Regions from separate parts of the Homo sapiens genome. Here regions 1, 2, 3 and 5 are each linked to region 4. Evidence: promoter capture Hi-C in 16 types of primary human blood cells and fetal thymus (Javierre and others, 2016). All regions are on one chromosome and are shown on one strand. Each heading gives the region's core, a stretch centred on a gene start or on the middle of the fragment in contact. The rest is flanking DNA. Distances are from core to core; before and after follow the strand shown.

The links. Contacts are between HindIII fragments. The CHiCAGO score rates a contact against its expected background, and 5 or more counts as called.
Region 1: a contact is called between a fragment that was not itself captured here and the fragment with the promoter of TANK in region 4, in 1 of 17 cell types (total B cells). The highest score is 5.4, in total B cells.
Region 2: a fragment that was not itself captured here is called in contact with the fragment with the promoter of TANK in region 4 in 1 of 17 cell types (naive CD8 T cells); the score reaches 5.5 in naive CD8 T cells.
Region 3: a contact is called between a fragment that was not itself captured here and the fragment with the promoter of TANK in region 4, in 4 of 17 cell types (total B cells, neutrophils, naive B cells and 1 more). The highest score is 9.7, in total B cells.
Region 5: a contact is called between a fragment that was not itself captured here and the fragment with the promoter of TANK in region 4, in 2 of 17 cell types (non-activated CD4 T cells and naive CD4 T cells). The highest score is 5.3, in non-activated CD4 T cells.

What each region holds. Positions count from the first base shown.
Region 1 is chr2:160,430,409-160,433,108 of GRCh38, reverse strand. The region is part of intron 1 of RBMS1 (RNA binding motif single stranded interacting protein 1); the gene reads left to right. Among named protein-coding and RNA genes, the nearest start is that of MIR4785, 24 kb to the right of the region's middle. The HindIII fragment of the contact is 1,024 bases long and covers 799-1,822 here.
Region 2 is chr2:160,277,658-160,280,357 of GRCh38, reverse strand. RBMS1 (RNA binding motif single stranded interacting protein 1) reads left to right here. Exons shown (of 14, transcript NM_016836.4): 11 at 1,700-1,810. Among named protein-coding and RNA genes, the nearest start is that of LINC02478, 7.1 kb to the right of the region's middle. The HindIII fragment of the contact is 3,110 bases long and covers 1-2,700 here.
Region 3 is chr2:160,374,298-160,376,997 of GRCh38, reverse strand. All of the region lies in intron 1 of RBMS1 (RNA binding motif single stranded interacting protein 1), which reads left to right. Among named protein-coding and RNA genes, the nearest start is that of MIR4785, 32 kb to the left of the region's middle. The HindIII fragment of the contact is 1,146 bases long and covers 771-1,916 here.
Region 4 is chr2:161,159,124-161,161,823 of GRCh38, reverse strand. TANK (TRAF family member associated NFKB activator) reads right to left here and starts at 1,396. Exons shown (of 8, transcript NM_001199135.3): 1 at 1,338-1,396. TANK-AS1 (TANK antisense RNA 1) reads left to right here and starts at 1,534. Exons shown (of 3, transcript NR_187173.1): 1 at 1,534-1,692; 2 at 2,588-2,659. RefSeq lists an enhancer at 923-1,686. The HindIII fragment of the contact is 6,780 bases long and covers 1-2,700 here.
Region 5 is chr2:161,952,152-161,954,851 of GRCh38, reverse strand. All of the region lies in intron 19 of SLC4A10 (solute carrier family 4 member 10), which reads right to left. Among named protein-coding and RNA genes, the nearest start is that of DPP4, 120 kb to the left of the region's middle. The HindIII fragment of the contact is 1,477 bases long and covers 582-2,058 here.

The sequences.
Region 1 (2,700 bases), core at 61-2,560, 730 kb after region 4:
ATTCGTATCAAAACCAGTGAGAGTAGGTGCTCATCCCGGAGATGTGACCAGTTAGCTAGAAGCCAGGAACCTCAGAAGAGAAGAGTAGCTCGTAACTCAGCTTGCTGGATCCAACAGGATGAGAATTCCCTGAGGATTGGGCAACTAGGGTGATTTCCCAGATCTAATTCTGCTCTGTTCTGGGTAGTTGGGCAGGCTATGTAGTATATCCGAATTCCAAACCATTAAGTGAAATGCTTGTTATTAGTGATACCCAATCATTGTTTCATGACACACCAGTGTGTCACAAAGATTTCCTGCAGTGTTGGCAGTGAGCCTCACTTTTCCCAAAGCTCTGGCTCCTTCTCTGACACATTGCCACCAGGTGGCCTGCGTGACCTTTACTCCCTTTTCCCCGCCCAAACATCTTACATTCCTTATACCTTATATCTGGATTTAAGAAAAGACTTCTTTTGGACAATTGATTTGCAGTTCCTAATCTGAGTTCTTACACAGTTGCCAAGCTATTATTGCTGCAAGGAGTTAAATCGGTTTTCACACAGTTCTAATAGTTTATTGTCAAAATGTCATTTATTTGAGTTAAGCATTGCCAATGCCCCCATTAAACCACTGTTTCTTTTATTTCCTGGAGTTTGGAAGGCATTCGGGAATACCAAGTGAAAAGGAAGAGTGAAGAACAGAAAAATGTTAGTGGGATGGCAAACACTGTGAACATTGCTGTTTCTAGTGGGCCAGAAAAATGTATGTATAAATCTTCCCTGTTCTTAGAGGCGCTTTCAGATTCTCCTCCACAAAGCTTCCTATGGTCACCATTTAGAGTCAATCCCCTTTTCCCTGTTCTCCATGGTATGTTATTTAGTTCTCTTCATATTACTGGATCAGAGTCTGCTTTACCACTTGGTCATTTGTGCATGTCTTTTTCTTACTGAAACTGTCAGATTCTTCTTTGTATCTTCAGAAGTACATATAATATAATGTAACATATGCAAGTTTATATGTAGACATACATTTTTAAATTCTTTAAATATAATAGATTCATGTTCAATAAATAGTATTGAATACCTATTCTGTACTATACAAAACACTGGTGATAAAACAATGAGCAAAACAGGCACAACCCCGTTTCTCAAAGAGCTTTTATAATGAGGCAGAAAGGATGGACATTAAATAATAATTTAGATTGCAGCTTTGTGAGTCCAGAAAAGGAGATATACAGTATGCTATATGAGGGTTATATAACAGGAAGACCCAGCCTATTCTGGGGATTAAGAGGGAAGATTTTCTGGTATAAGTAATTTAAGCCGAGCCTTGAAGAATAAGTTGGAGTTAACTAGGCAAAGAGGTAGAGAAGGAGCATTCCATGCATAGAGAATAGCATGTGTGAAACATACTGCTGGATTGGTTGCCTTGCAAGTATAAGGAACTGAAAGTCCAGATTACCTGGTTCTTAGTGGTGAGGAAGACAATAGTGCAAGATAGTACTGGAGAAATAAGTATGAGTCAAGTCTTGCAGAGATATGTGGGCCATGTGAAAGATTTGGTTCTTTAGCCTAAGATTATGAAACAGACTTTGGAAGGTATCAAGTAGAAGATGCTTAATCTACATTTATCTTAACAGCCTCCCAGTAGATTCCTGGCTTCCAGCCTCTATAACTTAACATTTATACTTATTGTTCTCATTTGCATTGTGACTGCTGTGGGAAACGAGGAAGTAGCATGTCTTCTGCAGGTAATGAGAACCTTTGTACCAAAAGATAGTGGGATGCTTGCTTCCTCAGAAAAGAATCTGGCTAGTAGGTTGATTCGGTCTGGATCCAAAGCTTTCAAAACTTGAATTTTATTCTGTCTTGAATGTGGACCACTTAGTTTATTCTGAAAATCTGATTTCTAGCAGATTTTCAGAATAAACTAATAAATCCAAGAATGGCCTGGGTTACCTAGGCAATAGTCTAATTTTATTAGACTATTTTATTAGACTATTGCCTAGGTAACCCAGGCCATTCTTGGATTCTGAGACCATTCCTCCTGCCACACACAACTCCCCGCAAGAACACTTAGCTATCAGTGGGAAAAATCCAGTGTCTTTCTCTTGCTGGGACCGTCATGTCCATATCAGTCATATACAATATCACAGGTAACCCTGGAGGAGGGAAAGGGGGATGGGGAACCAAAATGCAAAGGACCTGGTGCTAAGCGCCCCATCATTATTTCATGCAACTGAAAGTCAAGCAGATAGGAGAGTTGTAAAACTTGTCTACAATGAGAATAAGCAAGGAAAGAATTAAGGGTCATTTCACATTTAAAAATTCAGCTTACCACTTGAAGCTGTCAGTGCTTTGTGTGTAGAACTTTCAAATAATTAACATTTCTCAAACATCAAAACACAGCTAGAGGTGTGCATAAATAAAGAGGCACAGGTCCCAAAATACTATTTTTACTTTTTGAACTGGTAGGACTAATAGAAAAATAAATGAATACAATTGTTTAGATTAACTAGTTCTTATGGAAAAGAAGCACGGGAGAAAGTAGTTGTTAACCAATACTTGATTATTTGTTAATCACTACTACATAAGATAAAAAGTAGAAAAATAGGGATATATAGCATTTACTTAAGAGAAACATCTCTCTCTTAAACTTTGTATTTGTTTTTAAGCACTCCAAGATCTTGGCCAGGATATTTAACCTTTGATCTAGTTTCCC
Region 2 (2,700 bases), core at 39-2,538, 880 kb after region 4:
AGGAGAGGCGCGCTCTGATATATGTATACGTTTTGTGTGATATATACACATACATATAGATCTATACATGTGCACATACATAGACACATCTTCAAACCCACACTTACCTGTACATGTGTACATAATATACATGCACTGATCCACACATGCCCATAGCAATCTGTGTCCCTGATACTCCATGCTACCCTATTTTGGAATGCTTGGAAATCAGCTTGCTTTGAATTTGAGGACTTCCTATTACAGATGGTGCCAATGAATGAGAAAAAGGAGCAGGAAACTGCTCCACCATCTTCTAGGCTTCTGAGTCATTTCCGTGTTACCACTTGCTTTTTGATGATGCATGTTAAAAAAAAAATTTCTAACAGAATGTATTAATGACAAACATTATCTCTGACACACATCTATATCTTTTTTTCTTTTTGGCAACATTTGAGAAAAAGACTGCACGTATCTGAGCTTAACATCTTTGAGGAGACATTAGGAATGTAAGCAGAAGGTTGCTATCTGAGGATTCATTACCTTTCCCCACCCAGCTTTAAACTGCCTGATTTACATCAGAATTAAAGTTCCTGTACACCTAACTCTGTCCTAGATTGTCTATCTAATTATCAATAAATAACAGTTGTATTTAAGGGATGCCAGGTACAGTGATAACAAAACATACATTAGTAGTTACAGAGCGTGTCAGAATACTTGCATTCTCAGATAATGAGGTGATTGCAAAAGTCCAAAAATAAAGAGTTCATTGAATTTTGGTTTATACAATCAATGTAACCATTTAAAAAAATGATGATAATGATAGTTTTTCAACAAGCTAGGTAAATGGTTAGAATAGAATGCAAAGTTAAGAGCAAAATCCCAGGATATGAAGTTGTTGATGTGCTCTGATTGAACCTGTACAGAAACACACAGAGGCTATGATCTGGCAGTAGTACCCTGACATTGCTAACAGTGGTTGTATTAGACTGGCTGAGTTAGAAGCAATTGTTTTTTTTTTCCCTCCTATTTTCCTAAATATATTTAATTTGATTTTAATGACTAACATTTTTTCAAATTAAATAAAAGAATCTGGACTCAGATTATTAATCATATCTGAATTGCCTTCCCTCCCAGGCACCAAAATGTAACTTAAAGTTCTGAGAAACACTGAGTGAATGAAGAAATGTGCTCTTGATCCTAACAACCTGATCTTGAACCAGACGATTATCTGGATAGAACATTGTTAAACAAAATACTATATTGATCTTATTAAATATAATACATTGTTTGGTGACTGGAGAAAACATCAACTGCCTTTTTTTTCCAGATTTTTTTTTAAGAAAGCGTTTTGTAACCCTAGGCAGGCAGTGATAATCAGTTTGTTTTTCCTATGATAGCTCCTCCTGCTGGACTAGCTTGCTTCCAGTTACTGGAAGTGAAGGGAAAGGGAAGGAGAAGAGGGACACTGGCTTTAATACAGGGATTGTTGTGAAGTGAATGCCAAGATATCATTTCCCCTAACGCTCTTAAAAAACTCTCAGGAAGAGCAATTTAGAAGATTTTTAGGAAACTGTTTATGATGCCATTTGCAAGATTGAGGAAGGTTGTTTTTGCTTCACATTCTTAAACAAACTAAGGTATTTCCTTTGTAAAAAGTAATTACAGGATCTTAACTCTTGCCTCAGTTTGTCTAATTTTGCTCCTGTCTCCAACTCCCCAGGGTGCCGTGTTAACTCCCTCAATGGAGCACACCATGTCACTACAGCCCGCATCAATGATCAGCCCTCTGGCCCAGCAGATGAGTCATCTGTCACTAGGCAGCACCGGAACAGTAGGTGGCAAATAATTATCATGTGTCTCTGTAAACAGAGGAGGGTAAATTAATGCAGCCTGTATCTTCCCTATCAAATGACAGCCTCTATGATAACAGATTATGTCTAATCCCCTCTCTTCCCCCCACATGACCTTCCATAAAGTAAATACTCAGCTATTTCTTAATTAATTGATGAACTGAAAGTCTATTCTCTGGGTATCTCTCCTTTACGAGAATATAGCACCCACACGTGACCACATCTAGCCTTTTATGACTAGTGTCATCTATATAACTAGTACCACTGTCCCTGTGGCAGTGTCATGAAGCGAAAGACGAAGGTAATACAAGATGGTAAAAGCAGGGAATTATTTCTCGCTTATTTCTTCTTTTATGGAGTTTGGGAGTATTGAATCATGGTCTTAATATTGAAATATTTCACCAAAGTCCAGGGGACTCCTTTGGGTAATGAGGTTGAGCTGGCACCAGATCAGCTTCCAGATTTGATGCTTAGCATTTTGCTGGTAAGATGGCTAAAGGATTTTAATTTAGCCTCTATTCTATAGTGGCTTAAAAGAACAAAGGGTGGTGCGTTTTCCCCTTATACACTCAAAACCTACAGCTGTTTCTTGTGAAGGCTAAGCCAGGGCCACACATATCCAATGAGACTGACTAGAAATTTCTCCTGCCTTTGGGAAAGGATGACTGTCAGTGTCAGAAAAGCCAGGCTCTGCTGCCTAATCTGCAGTGACCTGTTAGAGGTCTAATAAGTCTTACCCCTGTGGGCTCTACCTGTAGAAACAATACTAGGTACTAGTTTAGGGGGCTGCTAGAAAATAATGAGGTCCTTTGAGGAGAGATCTTCTAAAATCACACATTAGTGATACTGAATTATTGAGAGTGACAAACTT
Region 3 (2,700 bases), core at 94-2,593, 780 kb after region 4:
ACGCAAACATGACACAGAAATACACAGATTGACCAGGCCCAGTGGCTCATGCCTGTAGTCCCAGCACTTTGAAAGGCTGAGGCAGGAGGATCTCTTGAAGCTGAGTTCAAGAGCAGCCTGGGCAACACAGGCAATAAAGTAAGATCCAGTCTCTACAAAGAAAGTTTTTATTTATTTATTTATTTATTTATTTGATTAGCCAGACGCGATGGCATGCTCCTATTGTCCCAGCTACGTGGGAGGCTGTGACAGGAGGATTACTTGAGCCCAGGAGTTTGAGGGTGTGGTGAGCCATGATTGCACTACTGCATTCCAGCCCATGAGGCAGAGCGAGACTCTGTCTCTTAAAAAAATAAAATAAGATAAATTAAAAAATAAAAAAAAGAAATACATAGACTGATATATAATAGAAGAGCTGTTCTAGTATCACTCACTTTCTCTAATTATTCATATCAGATATAAGCTACTAGATTTTACCATGAGAAAGAAACAAAAGTAGACAGTATTGTTGAGTTATATTAATTCAAAAAATTTTCTCAGTGATGTTTATACACAAAATTACAACATTGTCAGATAAGATTTTATGTTTTTAAGTTATTATTATGGGGAGATTGCAAATACTTGTTCAGTTTCCTGTAAGTACAGATAATGCTTTTTTCTCTAGGGGCTAAATTGTGAAACCCATGGTACTGCAAGGTCATTCACATGTCCCGCTGGATCTAAGAATAAATAAATAAGTTGGTTTTGTGGGAGTATTTTTTTTATAAGCTTACTCATATAAGTTTTCTAACTTAATATTTAATCACCTAATAATACTTTCAGTAAGTTTGTTTAATGTGGAGAAAGTATGTTTTTGAATGGGTATTTTCCACCCTGAGGACTTTACAATCTCAGCGGTAATTCATTACTTACAAGAAATACTAAGATACAGACTGTACTGTAGATAGACTTTAAAAAACAGCTGGGAGGAAGTTGTCAGCCCTGGAATCCTAAATCTACTGGGGTGAGGCAGGAAATGCATTGCAGAGGTATTCTGAACTGTCATGATAAAAGTAATGTTTCACTTCCCCTAGGAAGTTTTCTTTCTTTTTTTTTTTTTTTCCATTTATTTTGAGTAAAAAGTAAAGGAAGAGTTTGCTCTTGTCCCCTTCACAAGGCTCTGTGTTGAGGAAGAAAACTGGCATGGATCTGGAAATTCAAGGAGGAGGAAAACACTGCACACCTGCATTCAGAATTCAGAAGAATAATTAATTTTGCACCTGAAGTTGGGTGGGATTTTGTGTTTACTGCGTTCTAATTACTGTTTGTTTGGGCTGTAATTTATTTATTGTGTTGAATTTTCTTTTAAAGTGGTTTTGGAGCTGTTACAGGGTCCTTTTATATAGAAGAGATTGAATAGAATGTGAAATGTAACTCTTTATACTGATTACACGTTGAAACACAAAGATGGCAGGCTGCTAAGTAACATACAGTCTCTATAGATCTTAAGTTACTATGGTTATTTCAGCTGTAATATTGTTTCTACCTTAAGGATACTCTGGTTTCAGGAGCTCTTTAAGATTGTTTTTTGTTTTACATTTGTTCCTTTAGGCTTCAGTTGTTGTTTTAGGATAGCTTACATATTTAGAATATTTTCTTAGAATCACTTATGACTAAGTCGGGAATCCATGCTGGCCTAAGGGGCATAGGAAAATGGTGCCGCAGTATGATGTCTGTTGGTCTTAAGTTGCACGATGTCACAGAAGTTGGCCTTGGAGTCTGCCAGTTTAACAAACTCTTGCTCCATTTCTCTATTTGGCAGACAGACAAGAGTACTAAAGGTCCTGACTGGGCTCTGTCTTGATATGTCTTATCTGGAGATGGCACTGTCCAGCACTATCCAGAATTTTAGAGTATTTTGGAGCTGGAAGGAAGCTTAGAAATCATCCAGGCTAACCTGCTTATTTCACACGTGAAGACCTGAGCCTTCCAGGGATAATACTCATTCCTGCTCCTGGCCAGGACAAAACTTGAATCTGGATATTCTAACTTTTCCGTTCAATTCCTCCCCCCCACCGTCCCCCGCCCGAGATGTAGTTTCACTCTTGTTGCCCAGGCTGGAGTGCAATGGTGCAATCTCAGCTCACTATAACCTCTGCCTCCTGGGTTCAGATGATTTTCCTGCCTCAGCCTCCCAAGTAGCTGGGATGACAGGCGCCCACCACCACACCTGGCTAATTTTTGCATTTTTAGTAGAGACAGGGTTTCACCATATTGGTCAGGCTGGTCTCGAACTCCCGACCTCAGGTGATCCACCTGCCTTGGCCTCCCAAAGTACTAGGATTACAGGCATGAGCCACCGTGCCCAGCCAATTTTTTTTATTATTATTGTTATAAACATTATTTTTATAGAAGGAAGGGAAGTGTTTTTCTAGTTTTGCATTCTCCAGAAGCCATGCTCTTCATTTACTGTGTTTAAATTCTTTTCTACATGTGAGATTCTGGTAACCTGTGACATCATGTCCACATTCCACCTTGCTTTTTAGGTTCTTCCTACTACCTTTTTAGTACCACCACACTCCTACCCCAACATCAACTTGTGGGAGCTTCCTCTGAACCAACCAGGGTAATTCTCTGGCTTTTGTGAAGAATGATCCTTCCAGTCTATGTCCTTGTTGGTCACTCCTCTTCTTACTCTACCCACCTTTCTTTCAGATTTGC
Region 4 (2,700 bases), core at 147-2,646:
AAATCTGTAGTCTAATGAGAAACAGATAATTTTGAAGAATACTGGGCAATATATACGGACAGGACATAGTAAGTGACAGTTAACTATAATTTGGTACATCTACACAATGCAGTACCACGCCAACATTACAATAAAATAGAGCTACATATGGCAAGACTTTCACCATATATATATATTTAATCTGAAACAGATTATCGAACAGTATGCATAATCTCATTTTCATAAGAAAGCAAAATAACATGGTTATGCACATACAGGAAAGATGTGGAAGGCTTGGATTACAACTGGGGAGAGGACTGAGAAGGATTTCACTTCCTGCTTTGCACATAGTTGTATTATTTGAGGATCCCTCCTCTCTCAAATGAGGACACAATAATTTTTAACAGAATGCACTGCTTGCTTCTCTGCTACCTCTCGTTTGGGTGTGTATTCCAACCGCGGTAAGAAGGCAGGTCATTTTCTTTTCCTTCAATTTCACGTCGCTTCTTCACTTCCTTTACTACCATCTCTCCCTTATTATAACTTGTCAAAAGCATCTCCTGTGAGGTGAGATAAACACCACTTTACATAGCAAGGCTGCTTTACTTTTGCTCGTTATAGCATAACAATAAAGGCACAGCTCTTCTTTGATTATCCTCCCCCTTTCTACTTCTAGAAAAGCACAGCTTTTTTGCCTGTAACTCGTTGCTAGTCAGTTTACACCGGCGTGAGGACTCTACCTAACGCCTGGGTTCCCACTGTGGGCGGGGTTGGCTTCTGTTCTTCCTGCCTTGGCCACCCACTCCCTCCGTGACCCTCTGGGAAGTTACCCAACTTCTCATTGACCAGGCTATGATGACACCCCACAGGAAGGCAGAGGGGAATTGTGCAACCACCTTGGGAAAACAACAGAAAGAACCAATTAAGTTTTCGAAAGAGTAACCACGATACTACTTGATTCTAGGAGGCAGTCTCTCTCCCGAAGGGAAGTCGGGAATGTTCCTGGAGGGTCCACTGCTCACCTCGACACCGCAGGCCCTTCCACCCCCATTTCCCGGGCAAAGCAGCCGGGACGAGTCCCTCCCTTGAAGCCGTTGGGGCAGAGGCCGACGATGCTATGCTGACATCGCGGGCCCGGAAACCAACCCACAAGGAGTCCGCTCCGGGGGAAGGACTCGCGTGGTTTCTCCCGCACAAAATCCCTCCCCAAACTGCAAATTGGTTGTCTCCGCTGCTCCTCGGCTTCTCTCCCTGCGGCGCCCCTACTGTCAGCGCGTCCCTCTCGCTCACGCATACAAATTCTCCGACGTCGTGCTTGACGGATTCGGACACACCAATTCACAAAGTTTCTTACTCACACAGTTCACGCTTTCAGCTGCGTTCCCTCTCCCCTCAGGTCGCCGGCGCCTGGCCGAGTGACTCCAACCGGAAGTTGCATTTTGTTCCAGTTCAGAGGGCAGTGCCTGCGCGCGGAGCCATTAACTCTTCACCTCCACCCAACAAGGCCAGGGCCCTTCCGCCCTGCCCCACCCAGCCCAGGGCTCTTCTGCCCCGCCCCTGCCCGCCCCGCCTAGCGCCCTCCCCCAGCCCTGCCCAGCCAAGTCCCCGCCTCTTAGAAAAAAAAAGCGTCAGCAGCGGAAGAGAATCCTATGTCAAGTGTAAAGGTCACTTGTGAGTCTTTGCTGGATTTTTTTGCCAAACGATAAATAACCGGTAAATAAATAACCAGTAAATAAATAACATCACCCTATATATGAGTTAGAGTACACAAGAATCACCTGAGAAACAAAATGTAGTTTCACCAACCGACTCCTACAGCTTTCATTTCAGAGCAACTGGAGTGAAGCCCAGGAACCTGCATTTTCAACAGATCCTCGTAAATTTATGTAATTAAACGTGGTTAAAGTCCACACTCTGAGAAACACTACATATACACATACCCATTTGGTTTCTCCCCAACTGGTAGTATTTTTCACTAAATGTATTTGTTAAAGAGGAATGGCTGGAAATGGAGGTGGAACTTTATTAGAAAATTTCCCATGAATTAAGACTTTCCCATTATTCCAATTCCTAGCCATGCATGAATATTATCTAAGATTCATATCTTAGATACCGCAAGAAAGATATCTTTTCCCTTTAGGGCAAGAGGATGAGGTCTGGCTGCCCCAATTTCTCCCTGTATTTCTGAATCATGGATGTTTACACATCTTTCCTTAGGCCAGTAAGTCCAAGGATTTAAAAACCTGCCAAGTTGCAGTGCATTCTGTCTAGTTATCTTGAATGTTGCTGTATACTTTTAAAAGTCAAAGCCTAAATATATTTGAAACAATGTTTTTAACAAACAGAAACTTCTTATATATAACGTTTTGACCAGTTGAATAGTTTTCTTGTAATAAGTAATTGAGTTAAACATCACAATACAGTACTGCTTTAAAAAAATTATTTAAACTTTTTTTGAGGGCAGTTTTAGATTCACAGCAAAATGGAAAGGAATGTCCAGAGATTTTCCATATACTTTCTGCCCCGACACAAGCATAGCCCTTCCCCATTATCAACATCCCTCACCCCAGTGTGATGAAAAAAAGCTGTTATAAATATCTGTGTGCAGGTTTTTTTGTGCGGACATAAGTTTTCATCTCCTTTGGATAAATACCAAGTAGTATGATTGCTGGATCATAAGGTAAGAGAATGTTTAGTTTTGTAAGCAATTGCCAAATTGTC
Region 5 (2,700 bases), core at 71-2,570, 790 kb before region 4:
AAATGTAAACAGTGGGATTCTGAATTGCAGGAAGTAGGCAAAATAATTCTTTCAGAGGAAATAATTTCTTTTCTAAATTTATAAAGCTAGTTTTGTAATATATAAATATATAACAAAAACAAAAATATAATTTCCCCTAATTATGCTGTACAACAATGGCAGCATCTTGATTTAATGTAAACCAAAGGAAATAAATAAAGCAGTTCTTGCTCTTCCCCTAACTAACCAGTATCCTTCTTGCCTTTCATTTAAAATGTCTTTAAAAACTTGGACTTTGTAACAAAATTATTAGCTGATAGGCATGCCAGCCAAAGAGAAGTATCCCTTTGTCAGACAGAGAACTCTACACCTTCTAACATATTTCTGTAGATTTTTTTCTCAAATAAAGACAGAGCTAGAGCTTTTATTCTCACATTCATCCATGAATCACAGGAAATGGACATATGGGAGGAAAAGGGAGCATAGCAACAGGTGATGCTACACCAGACCCCACTAAAACCAACATGCAGCAAGACAAGAGGCCAGCCAAGAGGACCATCTGATACCCAGATGCCACTGCTGAAAAAATTCATTTCAAAGCTTGGCAGCAATTTCCTGCATCTGTCAAGTTAACCACATAAAAGACTATAGATTGACATGAAGAACCAGGCTGACAAAGAGGGCAAAAAAGAACATATCAAATGCCATAATCATCAAGAGAATATGGTGCCAAATGAATGTTGCAAATGCATTCATTTACTCAAGTGATCCGGGATTGTATTGCTGTTTATTAAAAATGATGTCAAAAGAAGCCTGAACTGTCTACAGAAACATGTAGAAAAGCCCACAGTTGTATCTTAACAGAAACTTTCTTTTTTATAAGATTTTATCTCTCTTTTCACATTTAGAGAATGTGCTTTAAAAAACCCAAGTAGATATTTTTAATGCTTTTCAAAAGGATTCAGTTAACTTATGCCTAATCCACTTCTCTAAGGGAGAAACAAACAAACAAATGCTAGAGAGAGTATGGATTTATATGTACATTTATGTATAATATACATGATACTTCACATTCTCAAATTTTTGTATTTGCCTCTTCTTTCACTCTGGAGCCATCCAAAGGATCATAGGATGCAATGAGTTCGAGGTTTACTGATTTTGAGCTCCCCCATTCTTCGGGAGTAGTAAGTCACCTATGCAGTGCAACACAGCTTTATTGTGTAAATAGTGACACTCATGAAATGATAAAAACATTTTTTTTTTTTGAGACGGAGTCTCACCCTGTCGCCCAGGCCAGGGTGCAATGGCATGATCTCATCTCACTGCAACCTCTGCCTTCCAGGTTCAGACGATTCTCCTGCCTCAGCCTCCTGAGTAGCTGGGATTACAGGTGCCCGCCACTACGCCCAGCTAATCTTTGTGTTTTTAGTAGAGATGGGGTTTCACCATGTTGGCCAGGCTGGTCTCTAACTCCTGACCTCGTGATCCACCTGTCTCGGCCTCCCAAAGTGCTGGGATTACAGGCGTGAGCCACTGTGCCTGGCCAATAAAAACATTTTTATCAGCAGGAGAAATATCATCTAAAAGAAAACCAGCTACTAGTTCTGGCAATAGAGGTGAAGAAAAAGTAAAAAGATCTAAAATATGTTTGGGAGAGATAAAGAATGAAATGAGGAATTCTGAGTTGACTTGGGTGTATGTAGACTTAGATACATGATGTGGAGTCTACCAAGTGTTTGATACATAAACTACAAAACATGATTCATTAAACAATTTCGGGGAATGCTCCAACCAAGGCAAAAATGGGTTTTCAAGTGAGAAAAGAAAATTAGTAAAAGCTGAAAATGCTTTCACAAGTGGTTAGCTTGTGGTCTGGTGATATACTCAAGAAACACATCTTTTAGTGAAAATGTGGTTCAAGTCAAAGCCAGGAGACTTTGCAAACATTTCAATGAAGCAACAGGCGGGGAGAAGGACTATGGAACAAACCGTTACTCTGAGTAAATAACATTCTGAGAAGGTGATTTTGTTGTTGTTAACGGGAAAACCAGTAGCATCAGACCACACTCTATAGAAGCTTATAGGAGACAAGAGTTATAGGCCCAATAGGGGTTCAATGTAGATGAAATACATCTTCACTGGAAGAAATTTGCTTTAAAAGTATTCATATCTAAGAAGGAGGATGGAGAGTTCAGATTCACAGTGGCCAAGAACAGGCTGACTCTTCTGCCTGTGGCCATATAGCAGAGTTTATGATTAAGCCAGATTTGCTGTATCATTTACTAAATCCAGAGTAGTAAGGGGCAAAAATACACAACTTTTGACTACATAATCATTTATTTGCACAATAAAACAGATTTAGTAATGTAGCCTCAGGTTTATTTCAGTGACAAAAATAGTTCTAGTTCTGCATTTAATTCTATAAATGCAAGTACTTGAAAGGACCACTTAAAGAATGCTTTACTACATTTTTGTTATTCCACAGTATATGTGAAGGGGGAAATTAGTGTATTTGTCAATGTGGAGCTTTACAAAGGCTGTGAATGTCAAGGGCTCATGAAGAACAAGGAGTAAGAGCAAGTGTCATGTGATTTATAAGGTTGAAAGGGCAAAGATTCAGAATGGCCAGGAAGGTAATATCAATCTCAGCACACATTTCACTTCCACACTTTGTTTTAATATGATTCCACTTACAATAAGAAAAAAATGCTGCCTGAATCC